Linked DNA regions of Homo sapiens: regions 2 and 3 are each linked to region 1. Evidence: promoter capture Hi-C in 16 types of primary human blood cells and fetal thymus (Javierre and others, 2016). All regions are on one chromosome and are shown on one strand. Each heading gives the region's core, a stretch centred on a gene start or on the middle of the fragment in contact. The rest is flanking DNA. Distances are from core to core; before and after follow the strand shown. Region 1 holds the start of REEP3 (receptor accessory protein 3). Region 2 overlaps EGR2 (early growth response 2). Region 3 has its middle 190 kb from the start of ADO.

What was found. Contacts are between HindIII fragments. The CHiCAGO score rates a contact against its expected background, and 5 or more counts as called.
Region 2: a contact is called between a fragment that was not itself captured here and the fragment with the promoter of REEP3 in region 1, in 3 of 17 cell types (fetal thymus, erythroblasts and neutrophils). The highest score is 7.3, in fetal thymus.
Region 3: a contact is called between a fragment that was not itself captured here and the fragment with the promoter of REEP3 in region 1, in 1 of 17 cell types (neutrophils). The highest score is 5.5, in neutrophils.

What each region holds. Positions count from the first base shown.
Region 1 is chr10:63,519,989-63,522,688 of GRCh38, reverse strand. It overlaps REEP3 (receptor accessory protein 3), which reads right to left and starts at 1,288. Exons shown (of 8, transcript NM_001001330.3): 1 at 1,112-1,288. The coding sequence starts at 1,143. It also overlaps a transcript of JMJD1C not described here. RefSeq lists a silencer at 603-1,652 and an enhancer at 2,043-2,092. The HindIII fragment of the contact is 3,716 bases long and covers 67-2,700 here.
Region 2 is chr10:62,812,117-62,814,816 of GRCh38, reverse strand. It overlaps EGR2 (early growth response 2), which reads left to right. Exons shown (of 2, transcript NM_000399.5): 2 at 349-2,700. The coding sequence ends at 1,610. Among named protein-coding and RNA genes, the nearest start is that of EGR2, 2.9 kb to the left of the region's middle. The HindIII fragment of the contact is 7,552 bases long and covers 1-2,700 here.
Region 3 is chr10:62,613,158-62,615,857 of GRCh38, reverse strand. No RefSeq gene overlaps it. Among named protein-coding and RNA genes, the nearest start is that of ADO, 190 kb to the left of the region's middle. The HindIII fragment of the contact is 1,913 bases long and covers 316-2,228 here.

The DNA of each region.
Region 1 (2,700 bases), core at 39-2,538:
ACTCAGAAAATCTAGCTCCTTTTAACAAAAAGTCTGGTAATGTTATTTTTCCTAAATTCTAAAGCTTATCAGAGAAGCCTGCCCCCTCACATAAACATTTTTTCATATACCTTTATGAAACCTTCTGAGATAACACTACTACAGAGGTGAATAATGAATTCATAGGCCCTAGCTGTAACTACGTCATTGTTTACTTGGTGACTTTTTTTTTAATCGGGGAGAGGGGTAAAATGGAGATGAGAGAAAATCAGTTTAAACTGTATTCAAATACATTTACACGATTAACACCACCAACTCAAGGAATTTCTTTTTCTTACAGACCTGTAGCACTTGTTGGTAGGAGAACAATGAAATGAACCCATAATTTGAACAAAGGCAACAGGCACCTGCAGCCTTTCAATCACTTAGCAAATATTTCCGCCGAGACAGGGCCGAATTCGGGGATCTGGGCGAGCAGCCGGTGTCACCTTTCTCGGTAAGCTGCAAATCTTGGGAAAACTAGGACCCTTCCCAGGGATCCTGGGCTGGGAGCGGTCTCCGGTTTTTAGACAAATCTCTCCTCCTACCACACGTGACCGAATGGCAATCAGCCGCCAAGAGAGACACCGCAACGCATCAGCCGCGGGATACAAAGGCTCGGCACTGCCGTCGCATCCTCGGGAGGATCGCGGAGCCTCCCGCGCTCGGCGTCTGCGGAGCCTGCGCAGGGAGCAGCTGCGAGGCGCGCCGCTCCCGGGCCCGCAGGGCGGTGCCGCGCTGCGCGGGGAGCAGGAGCGGGGAGCGCGCGCCGCCTGCCCTGAGCGCCTGCCCACCCAGCGCCGCCGGAGCAGGGGCGCCGCGCCGCACCGCACGCAGCCGAGCAGCGCCACAGCCGCCGCCGCCGTCGCAGCCGCAGTCGCCGCAGCTAGGCCCTCGGCCGTCGCAGGGAGCTCCGCAGCGACGTGGACCAAGGTGAGGAAGCCGAGGGCTCCCCCAGACCCTCGGCAGGCCCGAGGCCGGGCTACCCCGTCCCCGCCCAGGCCCAGGCCTTCCCTTTCCTCTCGGCTCCTTCCCCTTCCCACAGCTCCCCTGGGCCTCGCGCCGGCTGCAGGGCGCAGTGAGAGGCACTTACACCACGGCTCTGGAGATCATCCAGGACACCATCTTCACGGGGGCTTGGGCCCCACGTCCGGGGCGGGTGGGCGCAGGGCGCTGCGGACCAGGCCGCCAACGGCAGGCCGCGCGCTTCGCCGGCTCCTCGCGCTCCCCGGGGCCGCGCTGGCGCCCTCAGGAGCCGGGCCCGGTGTGTGCGCGCGGCGGCCTGGGCTGCGCAGAGGTCGGTCCCCCGCCCGTCCCCGCCCGCCCCCGCCCGCCGGCCCGGCAGCCTAGTCCGGACAGCACCCCGCCCCTGCGCTCCGCTGATAGGCGGTGGCGGCGGCGCGTTGGCCCGGGCCAGGGCTGGGGCCAGGCGGCCGGGCTCCAGGGCTGGGCTGGCGGGATCCTAGCCCGCGCTGGACGGCCTCGCTGCCGCGGCCTTGGCCCCTGCGCTCTAACCAACCTTACCCTCCTTAGCTCTTTGGGACGCCCACACTCGCGGCGAGAGTGGGGCAGGAGGCTGAGGAAGGGTACTGGAGGGTAGGGATTGGCAGTGCCTGTGTGAAAAGTGAGATATTCGCAGGAACTCGGTGTCCAATAAAACTCTCGACCAGGCCCTGGTTTTGGAGAGCCAAGACTTTGAGGTGTGCCTGGCCACATCCGGTATCCTCAGTGTTTACGGAGGCCCAGCACCAAAGGCGTCCTTATATTACCACATTTTAAAGGAATCGTCGAGAGGTTCTTGCACAGGCCTCCGTGTGTGCCACGAGTCTCGTGGTGCAATGCAGGGAGGGACAGAGGAGGATTTCATGTTTGCAGTAGTGGGTGCAGTGATACCACTGTTCTGGGCCTCTTAGGGCACCTTTTCATCAGAGCATCTGCAAAGACTGTTTACAGACACGAATCTCCATTATTTCCCTGAGGCCTGCCAGATGTTCAAAGTAAAGGCTGGGTCTAGGATTCCTGACCTGTCTTAAGATTTACAACTATATTACAGCTGTAAGATTTACAACTGTATTTTTTGGAGGTTGGGTTACTGCTTACACCTTGCTGTTCTTGCAAATATCATTTCAAGGGCAGACTTTTAAAACTGTTTTTTTTTTTTTTTTGTGACAGTACCAAATTGAGAAAATGATGTTAAAGTTTAGATATTTTTATTTTTTCCAGTTAAGACGATAGTAAAAGATAATTCTAGTATTCAGATGGTGCGAAGAATAAAAGATGAAATGTAGGCTTGGAGCCTTTAATTAAAGTCCTAGAAAATATGATGGCTTTTGTGACCATACTGTAATTTTGTCTTCTTGTTCCTCAGTTTCCCTGTGATAAAAAGGGGGTAATAATACTGTAGTCTGTCTCTTGCCTTTCAAGGGTGATATGAGGCACTGCTAAATAATATGTTTAGGAAATACTCTGACTTGCATGGAAGACAATCAAAGGACACAACAGATTATCCTAAATTATTTTCAGTTCTCAGTCAATAAATTGGGTAATATTTCATTATTTAAGAAACAAGCTCAGAAGCTACTTTCTACTCTTGGGTTAGGTTCTTTTCGCTTATTAATTCATGTCAAGACTTTTTATTTCAGGAATTTGAGTAATAATTTGCATTTAACTCTGAATCTTTTA
Region 2 (2,700 bases), core at 79-2,578, 710 kb after region 1:
AAGCTCCGGGCGGATGAGGCTTTTTAAAATATTGTTGTTGCTATTATTGGGTGTTTTTTATTGGGGACTAGAGCCACAGATGGCTGGGGGTGGAGGGGAGTTGGGAAAAGCTCATTCTGCTTTTTTGGAGGTAGTTCTTGAGTTCCATACTGTCAATGGGTTGCCACAGTTGGGCTGGCCTCTTCTTACAGTCTGTGGGCCTCAATTTCCCCACCTTTTGGACTTTGCCACAGCTCTACAGTGCTGAGACTCTCGGCCTTGGAAATGGACCTATGTGAGCGGGGGTGAGAAGGGAGTCCTGGCTGTATTTTCATTGTTCCACCTCCATTCTGCCTTTCCCCTCCCCAGATGGCATGATCAACATTGACATGACTGGAGAGAAGAGGTCGTTGGATCTCCCATATCCCAGCAGCTTTGCTCCCGTCTCTGCACCTAGAAACCAGACCTTCACTTACATGGGCAAGTTCTCCATTGACCCTCAGTACCCTGGTGCCAGCTGCTACCCAGAAGGCATAATCAATATTGTGAGTGCAGGCATCTTGCAAGGGGTCACTTCCCCAGCTTCAACCACAGCCTCATCCAGCGTCACCTCTGCCTCCCCCAACCCACTGGCCACAGGACCCCTGGGTGTGTGCACCATGTCCCAGACCCAGCCTGACCTGGACCACCTGTACTCTCCGCCACCGCCTCCTCCTCCTTATTCTGGCTGTGCAGGAGACCTCTACCAGGACCCTTCTGCGTTCCTGTCAGCAGCCACCACCTCCACCTCTTCCTCTCTGGCCTACCCACCACCTCCTTCCTATCCATCCCCCAAGCCAGCCACGGACCCAGGTCTCTTCCCAATGATCCCAGACTATCCTGGATTCTTTCCATCTCAGTGCCAGAGAGACCTACATGGTACAGCTGGCCCAGACCGTAAGCCCTTTCCCTGCCCACTGGACACCCTGCGGGTGCCCCCTCCACTCACTCCACTCTCTACAATCCGTAACTTTACCCTGGGGGGCCCCAGTGCTGGGGTGACCGGACCAGGGGCCAGTGGAGGCAGCGAGGGACCCCGGCTGCCTGGTAGCAGCTCAGCAGCAGCAGCAGCCGCCGCCGCCGCCGCCTATAACCCACACCACCTGCCACTGCGGCCCATTCTGAGGCCTCGCAAGTACCCCAACAGACCCAGCAAGACGCCGGTGCACGAGAGGCCCTACCCGTGCCCAGCAGAAGGCTGCGACCGGCGGTTCTCCCGCTCTGACGAGCTGACACGGCACATCCGAATCCACACTGGGCATAAGCCCTTCCAGTGTCGGATCTGCATGCGCAACTTCAGCCGCAGTGACCACCTCACCACCCATATCCGCACCCACACCGGTGAGAAGCCCTTCGCCTGTGACTACTGTGGCCGAAAGTTTGCCCGGAGTGATGAGAGGAAGCGCCACACCAAGATCCACCTGAGACAGAAAGAGCGGAAAAGCAGTGCCCCCTCTGCATCGGTGCCAGCCCCCTCTACAGCCTCCTGCTCTGGGGGCGTGCAGCCTGGGGGTACCCTGTGCAGCAGTAACAGCAGCAGTCTTGGCGGAGGGCCGCTCGCCCCTTGCTCCTCTCGGACCCGGACACCTTGAGATGAGACTCAGGCTGATACACCAGCTCCCAAAGGTCCCGGAGGCCCTTTGTCCACTGGAGCTGCACAACAAACACTACCACCCTTTCCTGTCCCTCTCTCCCTTTGTTGGGCAAAGGGCTTTGGTGGAGCTAGCACTGCCCCCTTTCCACCTAGAAGCAGGTTCTTCCTAAAACTTAGCCCATTCTAGTCTCTCTTAGGTGAGTTGACTATCAACCCAAGGCAAAGGGGAGGCTCAGAAGGAGGTGGTGTGGGGACCCCTGGCCAAGAGGGCTGAGGTCTGACCCTGCTTTAAAGGGTTGTTTGACTAGGTTTTGCTACCCCACTTCCCCTTATTTTGACCCATCACAGGTTTTTGACCCTGGATGTCAGAGTTGATCTAAGACGTTTTCTACAATAGGTTGGGAGATGCTGATCCCTTCAAGTGGGGACAGCAAAAAGACAAGCAAAACTGATGTGCACTTTATGGCTTGGGACTGATTTGGGGGACATTGTACAGTGAGTGAAGTATAGCCTTTATGCCACACTCTGTGGCCCTAAAATGGTGAATCAGAGCATATCTAGTTGTCTCAACCCTTGAAGCAATATGTATTATAAACTCAGAGAACAGAAGTGCAATGTGATGGGAGGAACATAGCAATATCTGCTCCTTTTCGAGTTGTTTGAGAAATGTAGGCTATTTTTTCAGTGTATATCCACTCAGATTTTGTGTATTTTTGATGTACACTGTTCTCTAAATTCTGAATCTTTGGGAAAAAATGTAAAGCATTTATGATCTCAGAGGTTAACTTATTTAAGGGGGATGTACATATATTCTCTGAAACTAGGATGCATGCAATTGTGTTGGAAGTGTCCTTGGTGCCTTGTGTGATGTAGACAATGTTACAAGGTCTGCATGTAAATGGGTTGCCTTATTATGGAGAAAAAAAATCACTCCCTGAGTTTAGTATGGCTGTATATTTCTGCCTATTAATATTTGGAATTTTTTTTAGAAAGTATATTTTTGTATGCTTTGTTTTGTGACTTAAAAGTGTTACCTTTGTAGTCAAATTTCAGATAAGAATGTACATAATGTTACCGGAGCTGATTTG
Region 3 (2,700 bases), core at 23-2,522, 910 kb after region 1:
TTTAGCTTTCTAACTTAATGATAATAGGAATAACCATCATTTGCTGAGCAACTAACTACTCTCCACTGCACACTGTAGCTGTTACACACATGATCTCTAATTCTCACATCTGCCATGGGAGGCAGGTACTATTATCCCTGTTTTGTGGATGAGTAAAGAGAAACTGGAAAAGATTAAGAGAATGAGTCCAAGTTGCACCCATTGTCATCATCCCTAGAGCCAGAGTTCAAATCCTGATCTGTCTGCCACGTGGCTTTCCTGGCCTCGCAATCTAGAGTGTAAGCTTAAACTAGCCTCTAAAGGTTAGTCTAAGCTTAAGGCCAGGAATCACCTCCTTGTTATCTGTTCTCTTACAGTATCTAGCCCATCACACTTCCTTATACCTAGCATATCCATATATATTTGTTGGTTTTTAATATTCTGCGAATTGAAGTGCTGACATTGCTTGATGATCTAGAAGCTAATTCATGACTCTAAAACTTTATGGTCCTCTCTATAGACTGCAATCTTTTGGCTCCAAGAGGTTAAGGAAACTAAACATATGAATAGTAGAAAGTGTCATATTCCTGGATAATAGAGTTATTTTAAAAAACAAACAAGGGATGCTGGTACAAATCTCAGAGTACTTAAGGCATCATCCAGAAAAAGAAAAAGAAAAAAAGAACACTTCCCCTGGCCTGGATATAGATGGTGGGTCTGACTGGGTTGGCATGTGATGCCCTGCCTGGCAAGACAGGACAAGAAATGAATCAACTGCCCAATGCGATGGTATGTGCTATTTCCAAGCTGCCTAGCTCATGAGTGCTGCACAATCCAGCAGCCCACTCTAATTTGTCACACCAAAGGCTGCCTTCTTAGTAAACAGTTGTCCACACTTCTGTTGGTTCTGAGTCACCGCTTAGTGTTCAAACTGAAATGCCAGTGCAGTCCTTGGACTACACCATGCAGTGTGAAACCAAGGGAGGCGGGCCAGGCAGGACAGCACTTCCTGTGGAAACTTCCGGGTCTTGCAAAGGAGCCAGAGCCTCCAACCAGTGTTCCGCAAGGGATGGTTGCAGAGCAGCCCCCTGGTCAGAGCTACCCCCTCCTCTCAGTGAACCCCCTCTCTTTATAGCTGAGGAAACTGGAGGTGAACTGGCTTTGTGACTTGTCCAAGATCCCACAAGTCTTTTTATGACCTGGCTTCTACCCTCTTCGATGTCATCCCCCACCTCATCCCACAAGCATCCTCTTCCCAGTCAGATGAAGTCATTTCAGCGACATTATTGAGTGTGCCACGTTATTTCACTTCTCTTGTCTTTGCGTGTATGTCCTGTCAACCTGGATGCCATTTCTACTCCTTCGTGGCTGGGGAATGACTCATCCTCCAAGACCCAACTCAAGCATCTCTTCCTTTCCGAAACCCTTTTTGACCAGTTGTTTCTCCTCCATCAAAGCAGATCTATCCATTCTGTGCTCTGTTCACATAACTGCTTATCAACCTGGAAGGCATCATATCTTAGAAATCTGTTTACTCCCCTAGGCCATGGGTAGTCAAGTGGCAGTTAGGATTGTGTTCAGCTGCAAGTAACCAAAAGCCCAGTTGATCAATATCTTAGACAAATTAGGGGACTAATTTTTTTTAGATAGCCAAGGTTGCCGTGATAACTCTATAATATGATTAATCATTAGGGCCCCTGTTTCCATGTAGATTTCTGCTCAGCTCTCTTTAATTTGTGGCTGTTTTCTTCATGCTTGTCACCCAGTGGTCACAAAATGACTGTTCTTTCTCTATATCCAACTTCCAGACTGGAAAAAGGGAAGTTAATAAGGTATTCACTAATGAAGCCTGCTCCTTCTACAGAGCTTTCCTGGAAGCTGCACTTAGTGACTCTTGCTTCTCTCTCTTTGGTCAGAATGGGACTGGATAGATATCCCTAGTGGCAAAGAGAATGGGAGATATATTTGATGACTTGAATGAATTGAAATTCCAAATACAATCAGGATTTGGATTGTTAGGAAGAAGGGGAGAATTGATATTGGGTAAGAAAGTAACTACCATATGTAGGGATTATGTTGCATTTTTCATTCTCTCTCTGGGGCTTAGCATAGGGCATGGCACATAGTAGGTACTCAATAAATAAATGTCCAAGAAAGAAAGGAAGCGACATTTTATAATTCCCTAGTCCACTGCTATTTGTACAGTATGACTCAGCACATCTTTGAGCTTTTAGACATGAAACGAAGCTTTCTGGGGGTGGGGAAGAACAGCAGGGAGGAGAGATTCCTCGGGGGAGTTTCCAGCCAGAGCTTACTTATTCCAGCTGCGACCACTCAGCTTAGCAATGCTTAGGAGCTAAGAGAAAGGGAAAAGAGTCCATTCTTGATGTGTACAGTTGAACCATCTCCCCCCGCCCCATCCCCAATTCAAAAAGAACATGTTGGTCACTACGTGACATTAGGAGCCTCGCTACATTCTTGGGACATCTCCTTCCCAGTCCCACACCCTATATTGAGACTCCTCAGCTAGGGAGTCAGGCCCAGCCTTGGGTCCTCTAAGGCCAGGTGCTATTTCTGTGTGTCATGTTTGTTTCCAGCTTTTCACAATTATAAACAACTTTGCAGTGAGCATCCCTGAAATAAATCTTTAGGATCATTCTTGTACATTTTAATTATTTTTTTCTGTAGTCTAAATTCCAAAAAAAGTAGAAATTCTGGGCA